Linked DNA regions of Homo sapiens: all the other regions are linked to region 2. Evidence: promoter capture Hi-C in human tissues and cell types (Jung and others, 2019). All regions are on one chromosome and are shown on one strand. Each heading gives the region's core, a stretch centred on a gene start or on the middle of the fragment in contact. The rest is flanking DNA. Distances are from core to core; before and after follow the strand shown.

Region 1 (2,718 bases), core at 98-2,597, 230 kb before region 2:
TGTGTTGCATATATGCAATGGAATACTATTGTGTCATTAAAAAGAATAAAATCCTATTATTTGCAGCAACATGGGTGAGCATAGAGGACATTATGTTAAGTGAAATAAGCCAGGTACAGAAAGACAACACATGTTCTTGCTCATATTTGGAGGCTTAAAAAAAACAACTTTGTCTCATAAACAGAGAGAGTAGAATGATGGTTACAATTGGCTGGGAGGGGTGGGCGAGGGGATGAAGACAGGTTGGCTAATGGGAACAAAAATACAGTTATATGGAAGAAATAAGTTCTAGTATTTGATAGCACAGCAGAGTGACTATAGTTATAACTTATTGTATATTTCAAAATGGCTAGACGATTTGAAATATTCTCATCATAAAGAAACGATAAATGTTTGAGGTGATGCATATTCCAATTACTTTGATTTCATCATTACACATTGTATGCACATATCAAAATATCATGTGCCCCATAAATATGTACAATTAGTATGTATCAATAAAAAATATAACATTTTGAAATAAAATGATTTTGAAAAAAATTCATTTAAAAAAATCTATTTTAGAAAAAAATTTTTAAGGAAGCAATTGCCATCAAGAAAAAATGAATCAGAAATACAGGAACCCAGAAAAGAGGTGACCAGGAAAAAATGGCATGGAAATAGGATAGAACTAGAAAAATAAAATAAAAAGGAAATCTAACTTATGAGGTCCACAGGGATAACAGGTATCTCAGGAAACAGTATAAAGATTTAGGAAAAATACAAAAGAAAGACAAAGAAAATGAAACAGACATTAAGAAATAAAAAAATTAAGAATAAATCAAAATTAAGGAATATACAACATCTATATAATTGGTATCCCCAGTGAAGAAAATCAGAACAATGAAACAGAAAAAAAAATGTTAACTGAATTCAACAACACTTATCTGAAATCTATGTACTGAAAACATATACTGTGTACTTGATAAATTTAACCTGCAGTGGTCAACTCTAAGGAATACCTTGGTAAAACTTTTCCCTTAAAAAAAAATGTGGTTATCTTGACAAAAAAGAGCAAGTTGCTTTTAAGAAAAAGAAAATCCGTTTTGCATCATGCTTCTTGACACCAACATATACCACCAGAAAAGAAAGCAGCACTTACAAGACACTCAAGGAAAGAAAAATGAGTCAAGGAGCCATGCTGTCTTAAGGTATAAAATAGGCTACAGGCAAACAGCTATCAACATGCAAAACTCCAAGGAATATTGTTCTCAGGAGCCCCTCCTTAGAACTCTACCAGAGGACTAATTTCAGACAACCAAGAAATTATTGTGGGGAAGGGGAGTTTGGCAAATAGTCTGGTGATGAGAACTGAATATATTTAACTGAAGAACTAAGACTAAAATGTGCAATAAGGGTAACAAAATAATACATAAATATTAAATCTTGGTCAGGCAGTGTAGAAATAATAAAACTTACAACAAAATGGGAGAATTAATTTATGTGTTGCCCAAGTGAACCCACAGTAACTATTCTTTTGGATTTCCCCAAGTGTCAGCACTTGCCTTGCAATATCTATTGTCACCAGCTTCTAGCCTGGAATCCTCTGTTCTTTCCCCTACTTAGACTTCCTTCAAGACCATCCCTATGATGTGATTATCTAACTCACCTTAATTCATACCAATTTTTATACCCAAGAGACTGTGGAAACCAAGTTTATGTGACAAGCTGACATAATAAGCTCAAGCATATTTAAGAATATGAGGATAAACTTTTTTTAAAAAATTACTAAAATTGAATAATGAATGAGAGAGAGGAGGAGTTTACAGGGTAATTTTATTGTTGTTCATAGTAGAGAAACTAAACTAAGAGTATTAATGTTATTTTTATAAAGATAATCACTACAACAAAACTATAAACCTTCCTAAATATTACAAAAACTGAAAAAAAGCCAAAAAATAAAAAACCAGGGAGTTAAATACTTTCAAAATACCTTTAACATAAACACACTTGCATTACATAAAATAACAGAACTAAGATCAAATGTATTGATCATGCCAAAATTAAATGGGCTTAACTTGCCTATTAAAAGAAAAATATTTTCAAATTAGCTCTCAAAGTAAAATCCGATTCTATACAGTATAAAAGAGACATACCAAAAACAAAGGATTTTAAAAGTTGAAAATAAAAGGAAAAGCAAAGGAATACCAGGCAAAGCAAATCAGAAGGTCTCAGAGGTCATGATCCTCATATCACACAAAGGAGAATTTGTTCCACAGAGTATTAAAAGAAACAAAGGAGGAAATCTGTAGTGCTGAAGGCTATAATTCATAATGCATATATATTAGGTATAAATATCTATACATGAAATAATGTAGCAGCAATTTTCACAAAGCAGGCATTACAAGAGATGCAAAGAGAAATATATAGGAACCCTCAAATAACAGGATACTTGAATAAATCTCTCAGTCCAAGATAAACCAAGTGAAAAAAAAGTATGAATGTAAACTAATTAATAACATAGACTTCCTAAATGTAGACTTAAATCCACATCCTGATAGTAGATACCCTTTCTTAGGAATGACCCTGACATATTCAAAACAATGTTTTTATATTAGACTTCATTAAAACTCAATAAATTCCAGAATGTAGAAAATATAAATGTCCTTCCATCTGGTTAAATGCTCTGTTAATTTATTCTTTAGTCAAATGGGAAATAGAAATTACAGGTGGAAAATC
Region 2 (2,700 bases), core at 69-2,568:
CTATCACCCGGTCACTTCAGTTGTTCTCTCTCCCAGGACAAGTGGGCAACCACCACCCAGGGCCTCATGAGAGTAAAGAGACTTTGCGTTGGGAAGACTCTCCCACCGACGTCCAGGACCGATTAGGAACCAAGCGAGCCCCTGAGATCTCAGCCCGGACCCTCCGGGTCACAGACAGGACCAAGCGCCGCTGCGGGCAGTCTCGGGCTTCTGCCTGGCATCTCTTTCGCAGTGCAGATGCGTTCCCGCGCCCAGGCCCTTGCTCTCCCAGCTAACGCGCGTGTTATGGGAGATGTCCCCTCCCCCTGACCTTTTCCTATCAGAAACCAGACGGTCGTCTCCAGCTCACTCCCTGAAGCGGCTGAAGGGGGGCGGGAGGAGGAGCCCGGCAGGGGGAGGACGGCCCGACTTGGGTCCGCCTGCCCTATCACACAGACATCTGCTCTCAGTTTCTTCCTCTTTGTGGTCGCTACAGATGACAAGGGGAGAGGAGCGGACCGAGGCGGAACAAAAAAAAAAAGTTATGTCATAAAGATATAAACCGGTGCTGTGACTCACCTGCTCTTAGCCGCAGGTACGAGTTTCGTGGCAGCGCCTCCGCTCTGCTAGCCCGGGGCCCGGGTCGGCCTAACGTCACTTGGCTCGGCTGACTCAGATGACCCGGTTTCTAGTGACGAAGCAAAAGTGGGGCTTTTTCCCTTTTCTAGTCTGAAGCTCTCAGGAGGAAAGAAAAAAAAAAGTCTGTATTCTCCAGTCTCCCGGGGTTGAACTTTGGGTCAGGAATCAGGAGGGAGGAAGCAAAGAGCAGGAGGGGCGCGAGACTGGGCCGCAGCCCGCGCTCGGAAGGTGGCGTGTACCTCTGGGGAGGGACCCCGGGGTCAGTTATCCCACAAGGTCTCTAAGCCCAGTCTCCGACGCCACCGCCCCCGGCCTTCTCCGGCTGCGAGGTTCCGATCCAGAGCCCTAGCCCGCCCGCCCGCCTGGCCCCGCCTATTTTTTCTTTTTCCAAAGGGGGTTACACCCCCTCCCTCCCCATTTCCCTCTTTCCCTAGCCTCCGGGCCTAAACCAATTACACTGCTTTGCAAACAAAGTGAGGGCCCCGCTTGGGGGAGGGGTCGCGGGGGAGGGGTCGCGCGCAGCGGTGAAGCGGCGGGGCGGGAGGCGCGGCGGCCGGACTGGCGGGCGGCCGCCTTGCAGGTGCACCTCGGGCTTTGTAGGTGCGAGCGTCTTTGTGCGGCGGACAAATGGGGAGAGGACGAGGAGGTGGGCACTCAAGCGACGTAAGATCCACATCAGCTCAACTGCACTTGCCTCGCAGAGGCAGCCCGCTCACTTCCCGCGGAGGCGCTCCCCGGCGCCGCGCTCCGCGGCAGCCGCCTGCCCCCGGCGCTGCCCCCGCCCGCCGCGCCGCCGCCGCCGCCGCGCACGCCGCGCCCCGCAGCTCTGGGCTTCCTCTTCGCCCGGGTGGCGTTGGGCCCGCGCGGGCGCTCGGGTGACTGCAGCTGCTCAGCTCCCCTCCCCCGCCCCGCGCCGCGCGGCCGCCCGTCGCTTCGCACAGGGCTGGATGGTTGTATTGGGCAGGGTGGCTCCAGGATGTTAGGAACTGTGAAGATGGAAGGGCATGAAACCAGCGACTGGAACAGCTACTACGCAGACACGCAGGAGGTGAGAGGCAAGGCGAGGCGGGCGGCCGGTGGGGCGCCGCTGGAGCCCGTGCCGGGGGAGGCCGGGGAGCGGTGGGCGCCAGGCAAGGCAGGCAGGCGGGCCGGGGGCGCCTTCTCGGTGCCACCGCTGCCCGCCCGCCGGTGTGGCCCCGGCCGGGCCTTGGCCGGGCCTGGAAGCGGGACCTGCTGCCCTGCTCTGTCCCGACTCTCGCAGCCGGAGAGGGAGTTTTAGGAAACTCCGGGCTTTGAAAACAGCGGCTCTAGGAAGCGCTTGCCTCTTCCCAGCAGCGAGCGGGAGCAGGAGCCGGGCCCGGGGTGCAGCGGGCGGGCGAGCGCCGGTGCGAGTTGGAAGCAACTCTGAGAAAGCCGGAGCATACCCACAAGGCGACCTCTTCGTCCCACCGTTTAATTCGCAGACGTCTTCTGATTAAAGCGCTCTGCCGCCAAGTTGGGTGTCTCAATAATGAAACGATTTCTAAATTTTGTAAAACTTGTTCTTCAAAAGCCCTATTTGGGGAGAAGTGTGCTCCTTCTCTAAAACCGCTGGGTGGCGCTAGTGCGACCAAAATCTTCTTCACAACTCTGGGCCGAGAACCTGTTTCTCTTCATTGTCCCCTTGGTGGCACGTTCATGGGGGTTATTTTTACAATGTGCACAAAAGGATTACAGGGAAAACCAGTTACAGGGAGGACTACCACCTATTAAAAGTATTTTTCTGGAAACAGCTGGCGATTACCCTCCAAAAGTTTAATTACCATTATTGAAAACGCGTATTGGAACTGCCTTGGATAATCTTGGGAAGAGGGAAAGAAAATAAAGCCCCAAGGTAAAAAATACTTTTAAGACGTGGACAGAAAAATATAGGATCACGTAATATTTTGATGGTAACTGACTTATTTAGATTTATGTATTCACAAGTTTACCTCTGAGTTTATTTGCATACCATAGTTTACTGGGTGTTCCTATTTAAATCTATTTGTTCTCATATTTTCAAATTGAGTCATACTTGCTGATTAAAATAAACTTAAGGACATC
Region 3 (2,700 bases), core at 135-2,634, 210 kb before region 2:
GTACATTTCTAAATTACTAAATGTTTTAAACAGATTTCACTGTCCACGTTTCACAGAATGGAGAGTGTGTGAACACAGAACAGCGGGAATGTGACCTAGCCTTTTAAAAGAATGCGTCATTTACTATGGACATGGGCAGGAATAAGGAGAGTGAGACAAGTAACAGAGAAAGAGGATGGGACACTACACTGAAAGACCGCAAGACTAGCTGCTCCCCAGTGAGGAATCCTCATTGAAAAGGGACCAAACCGACAGGAGAGAAGAGAGTAGGTAAGATTACAAAATATAAACAAGAGTTTGCACAGGTAGATGCTGGATCAAGACAAATGGAAAAAAAGGTTTGCTGCAGCCCACAGGCCTTCAAAATATAGGCCAAACCTGGTCACTGGTCCCTGGAGCTGAAAACCATCACTCCATCCTCCCTGCTACATGTGTGGTCTGAGGACCAAACAAAAGAATGCCTACACAAACTGCTCTAGCTAATATTAAAATTTTGAAACCACAATATTGCTAGTGATTGCTACTGCTTTAAAAATTCTGCACTTTGGGAGGCCGAGGCAGGCGGATCACGAGGTCAGGAGATTGAGACCATTCTGGCTAACATGGTGAAACCCTGTCTCTACTAAAAATACAAAAAATTAGCAGGGCATGATTGGGGGTGCCTGTAGTCCCAGCTACTTAGGAGGCTGAGGCGGGAGAATGGCGTGAACCCGGGAGGCGGAGGTTGCAGTGAGCCAAGATCACGCCACTGCGCTCCAGCCTGGGCAACAGAGTGAGTCTCCGTCTCAAAAAAAAAAAAAAAAAAAAAAATTCTGCATATGGTAGAAACATTTATTCAATTGATAATTATGTAATGTATTTAATTTATAAATGCCTTTAAATACTTCTATAAGCATTATCAACTTAATTTTTCATTTGACTTCTTTCAGAAATTATATAAGAAAATTTGGTGAGCACCAACAAAGAAATTAAATATTCTTTGAAATGGTTCTTTGGTTTCTTAAGTTTTATATGTGTGTATTTCCTAGGAATTCCTTTTGAAAATTGTAGCAGAAGTAATAAGAAAATACTTTATAAATGCCTTAAATGAGTTTACAAATGCTTTAACATATTGTTTATTAAATATTTATTGATTGAAATCCACAAGCTATTAAATGCATGTTATTTATTAAACACTTTAAACACATTGTTTACTAAAATGGTCATCTTACCATTTGAAGTTCCCTTATCTTGGTGTAACATAATGCTCTGTTATAAAATGCTGTATAACTATTTTTGTCCATGCTGATAGCTGTAGTTAAATCTGTAATTGCTAGCTTATAAGTCTAAAAAGAAAAAAGTAATTATGTGAGAAAGGAAAATCATAATGGACTGAAATTTAATCATAAAATAAATTCTTGTTTCTATCAGAGTTTTTGAAACACTCATTTAACCATTCTTTGTATCATCTGTGAAATTAAGACATTGAAGCTAATCTTTCACAGAGTTAATTAAGAAAATCTCCTGGTAGAAATTATCATTATAGTTTCTCTTACCTGCAAACAAAATTAAATATATCAACAACTTTAATTTAGGCAAATATCTTATTACCAATGTTGGTATATGGCAAGGAGAAAATCATACTTCTAGGTAAAATAAAATAAAGCCACCCATATTAATGCAGCAAACATTCACCAGTGCTTGCTTGCTTCTGTCACTCTGACTACCATATCACATAATCGTCATGTTTTCTACCCACGTTCTCTTTTGCTTCCTCTTTGATTCTTCTCTGATACCTTATATCACCCATTTCTGTAGATAGTAATTTTCATAGAATTAACACATAATGCAAGGTCTTACCTTTGCTTTAAGGTATTATTTGCAAAATATTTCATATAAAATAGCTACAAAGAAAGATCAGAAAAGAAAAGTAGAGAGAAATAAAGTATTCAGTGCAGTATCACATATCAATGGTGCCAGTCACACCTTTTAACCCAGTAACTTCTGTTTAAGAACCAATCATAAACCCAAGCAGCAATTTTGTTCTCAGTTGTATATAACTATATTAAATAGTATAATAGTAAAAATTTTAAAAACAATCAAAAAGTTCAACAATAAAGTAATTTAAAATAAATTGTCATGGAATATTATGCAGTCAGCAAAATATTATCTTCAAAGATTAAGTGTAAAAAGCAGGGCACCACACAAGTTATATAAATACCATAGTCCAAATTTTGGAAAATATATATCATATATTATGAGGAAAATAAAAGACTGAATACAAATATGCTAAATGCACCCAGGAATTATCATTGATGGTGAGATAATAATCCTTTATTCCCTTCCATATTTTTCCAAACTGTCTACAATGAATATATGCTACATTCTTAATAAAAATAAATAATAAATGTTATTTAAAATGTAAATGTCAAAAATAAATACCATTATTTTGTGAAAAAAATATGAATTGGGAAAGTGTAAAGTTTTCTATGTAGTTCTGCCCTTCATATCATAGTGATTCCCAACCACATAGAAAAAAAGTAAGTGAGTCCCCTGCCTAGCATAAGAGAATCTGCCCACCCTAAAATTTCGGTAAACCAGGCAGGAAATGGCCCTACCTTGTTGTAGTATTTCAGAACTCCTCTGTAGAGATAGGCACGTACGCTTTCAGGGTAAATTTTAATAGCCTTGTTACAATTCAAGATTGCTTTGGAATACCTG
Region 4 (2,700 bases), core at 183-2,682, 200 kb before region 2:
TATGTTCTATTGGCCACGAGTGACAGTGAGAAACAGTCATATTCAAGGGTTTGGTGGCTTGGGGTTAAAATCCTCTCCACGTACATATTAACACAGCTTTTCTGTATCAAATAAATGTTATTTATCTCTCTTAAAATCAACTGATTTTCAGTAGAGAAATAACCTTAGAAATTATCATGTTTGATGCCTCTATTTCAAAATGAAAACCACCCATCCAATAATCCAACCTCACAGAATCCCTGACCCCTTGCCTAGACACCAAAGTTCCTACTTCCTGTTTTCTGTCTCTTTGAAACTGACACTCTTTTCTTTTTCTTTCTGGCTCAAAAATGTCCAAAAGAAAACCACTGTGGTCATTATGGGAGCCATGCTCCATGAATTTCCTGTGTCAAGTTCAAAGTTTACCTTGGATAGATTAAGTAAACAGTCTGCTGGTTGGCAAGGAATTGGCATGATTAGTTACTCTTTCTGACACCTTCCCTTTTCATAAATCCTTCTTTGGAAAAAAAGGGGAATTTTTAATTAAATTCTGTGATTTACAGTTTGACTTTCTGACTAGTGCATTTAACTTTCAGTCTATATTTCTCCCTGAACATATGGTCTACATGGTATTAGTGTTTTTATTTTGCTTTACTAAACAAAATGAAGCCAGAAGTTCTAAATAGAAGGCTGCCTTCCATTGAGTTGTATCCTGTCCATAGCAATCATACACCAAGCAGAATGTTTTTTCATTATTTTAAAACTTAATGACAGTTTTCCATGAAGTTAATTTCAAAAAGCTCTAGCCTGGGCATCTCCAAAATCCTCAATAGTATTGATTCCTTATCCATAGATTTAACTCCTGTCAAACCCATTTAACTTCTAAAATTTGCAAAAACACCCAAGGCAAACAGATGTTGAGAACAGGTTTTATTTTTGAAGTAATCTTGTTTTTAGAAGTAGTATTCTAATTCTAGGATGACTTTATAAGTGTCTCATTTTTTCTAGGTTATCAATGATGAGGGGAAAGAAACTTTTTCTCCCATTTCAGGTTTTCGATTTTTTACAAAACTGAAATCAATAAATATGAAAAGGAAAACATACCTTTCTAGAGAAATGACAGTTTCAAAGTCACAAATTGCCAGCAGCCAAAGTTTTAGATGTGCATAGACTATTCCCCGATGTAGAAAACAACCAAGATTCTCATAGCCATCATTTATGAGTGCTTAAAAAGTTTAAAAAAATGTATTTCATTCAGGTTCTAAAATAACCATAGGTAAATTATACTTTAGTCTGTAAACTTCCTATTGCTTATTCTCATTTTTTAACATTATATAAAATAGAAACATATCTATGATGAGTGTACTTGTTTGGTAAGTTAAATAATAGTATTGTACATTAAAATGTATTTATTAGTAACAATGTGGCAATTGTGGTTCACAAACTCATTAGAGCTGAATTAAATCCTGATTGGAATCTAGCATAGTCCACTCACCGTATAGGTGAGGAGATTAAAGTCCAAAGGGGGTAAGTACATTGACCATGGTCATGATATACCAGTCAATGGCAAAGACTGGCCTAGAATCCAACTCCAGTCAGAAGGGTGCCATGACCCTTGATGGCCTGATTTTATCAGGAAGCCATCGTTACTGGCCAAGGAACAGGCTTGAGTACTAGTCCTGAAGGCAGAAAGCAGAGGTCAGGCTCACACACAAACCGGGATGGACAAGCAAAGAGGCTACACCAAGGCAAACAGAGCTTGGAGGTAAGGCGGACGGCTTGACTATGCACATCCCAAATGACAGCTATCCGAGATGCGAGATGCACATCCCTAATAATGGAAGGGAGAAAAAGAACCTCCTCTCAGTAATCCAGGTGTGTGACTCTCATCAGTAACCTGTCTAGAGGTCATCTCATGTCTCTCGCCTACTGATTGCCCCTTCACTTTCAAAACATGTTAGTGAATTAGATGGGGTTTCCACAAGTTTTGACAGATATCTTTAAAGCTTCTCATGACATTCTGCCTTAAGGTGCAAAGTTTTGTCAAAATATGCATAATGTTTGCAGTCTAGGACAAAAATATTCACGGTACTGGATTTAGGGAACTATAGCCAGTGTCAGCAATGATCATACACATTAAGGAAGTACAGTCATGCACCACTTAACAGTAGGGATATGTTCTGAGAAATGCATTATTAGGGGATTTCTTTATTGTGCAAAGATCATAGAGTGTACTTTCACAAACCTAGATGGTATATATTTTTATATATATACATATATACAGAATATAGAATATATTATAGAATATACATAGAGTATATACAATATATATATATATATATATAAGAGGAAACCAAATGTCCCAACACCATTAATGAATATCAATCGTTTCCCCTACTTGATCCACAATGCGAATGTCAAGTGCCATATATCAGGTTTAACCATAGTATATACAGTCCGTTTTTGACCGAAACATCATTATGTGGCGCATGACTGTTATCACTTGAAGAAAATCTAACTGCTCAGTTCACAGTATGATTGGCTAGCAATTAAAAAATCAGCTGCAGTTTGGGTGGCTGCTCTTAACAAACAATAAAAAAACTCTTCTTAAGGAAAAAGGAAAAAAAATATTATTTAACCTCTCTGTGCTATGGCTTTCTCATCAGTAAAATGTGAATGAAAATAGTACCGAGCTCCTAGCATTACTCTGAATATTGAGAC

The links. The method cuts DNA at HindIII sites, captures the fragments that hold promoters and counts their contacts. A contact is called where the count stands out against the background at its distance.
Region 1: a fragment that was not itself captured here is called in contact with the fragment with the promoter of FOXA1 in region 2 in 3 of the 25 tissues and cell types used here (H1 embryonic stem cells, dorsolateral prefrontal cortex and spleen).
Region 3: a fragment that was not itself captured here is called in contact with the fragment with the promoter of FOXA1 in region 2 in 1 of the 25 tissues and cell types used here (dorsolateral prefrontal cortex).
Region 4: a contact is called between a fragment that was not itself captured here and the fragment with the promoter of FOXA1 in region 2, in 1 of the 25 tissues and cell types used here (dorsolateral prefrontal cortex).

What each region holds. Positions count from the first base shown.
Region 1 is chr14:37,828,587-37,831,304 of GRCh38, reverse strand. All of the region lies in intron 31 of TTC6 (tetratricopeptide repeat domain 6), which reads right to left. Among named protein-coding and RNA genes, the nearest start is that of LINC00517, 72 kb to the left of the region's middle. The HindIII fragment of the contact is 4,635 bases long and covers 1-2,718 here.
Region 2 is chr14:37,593,867-37,596,566 of GRCh38, reverse strand. FOXA1 (forkhead box A1) reads left to right here and starts at 1,318. Exons shown (of 2, transcript NM_004496.5): 1 at 1,318-1,666. The coding sequence starts at 1,595. It overlaps TTC6 (tetratricopeptide repeat domain 6), which reads right to left and starts at 938. Exons shown (of 33, transcript NM_001310135.5): 1 at 559-938. RefSeq lists enhancers at 1-1,009, 523-1,382. The HindIII fragment of the contact is 7,361 bases long and covers 1-2,663 here.
Region 3 is chr14:37,807,358-37,810,057 of GRCh38, reverse strand. TTC6 (tetratricopeptide repeat domain 6) reads right to left here. Exons shown (of 33, transcript NM_001310135.5): 25 at 2,598-2,700; 26 at 1,212-1,325. Among named protein-coding and RNA genes, the nearest start is that of LINC00517, 93 kb to the left of the region's middle. The HindIII fragment of the contact is 6,001 bases long and covers 1-2,700 here.
Region 4 is chr14:37,789,221-37,791,920 of GRCh38, reverse strand. It overlaps TTC6 (tetratricopeptide repeat domain 6), which reads right to left. Exons shown (of 33, transcript NM_001310135.5): 18 at 1,084-1,204. Among named protein-coding and RNA genes, the nearest start is that of LINC00517, 110 kb to the left of the region's middle. The HindIII fragment of the contact is 5,054 bases long and covers 1-2,700 here.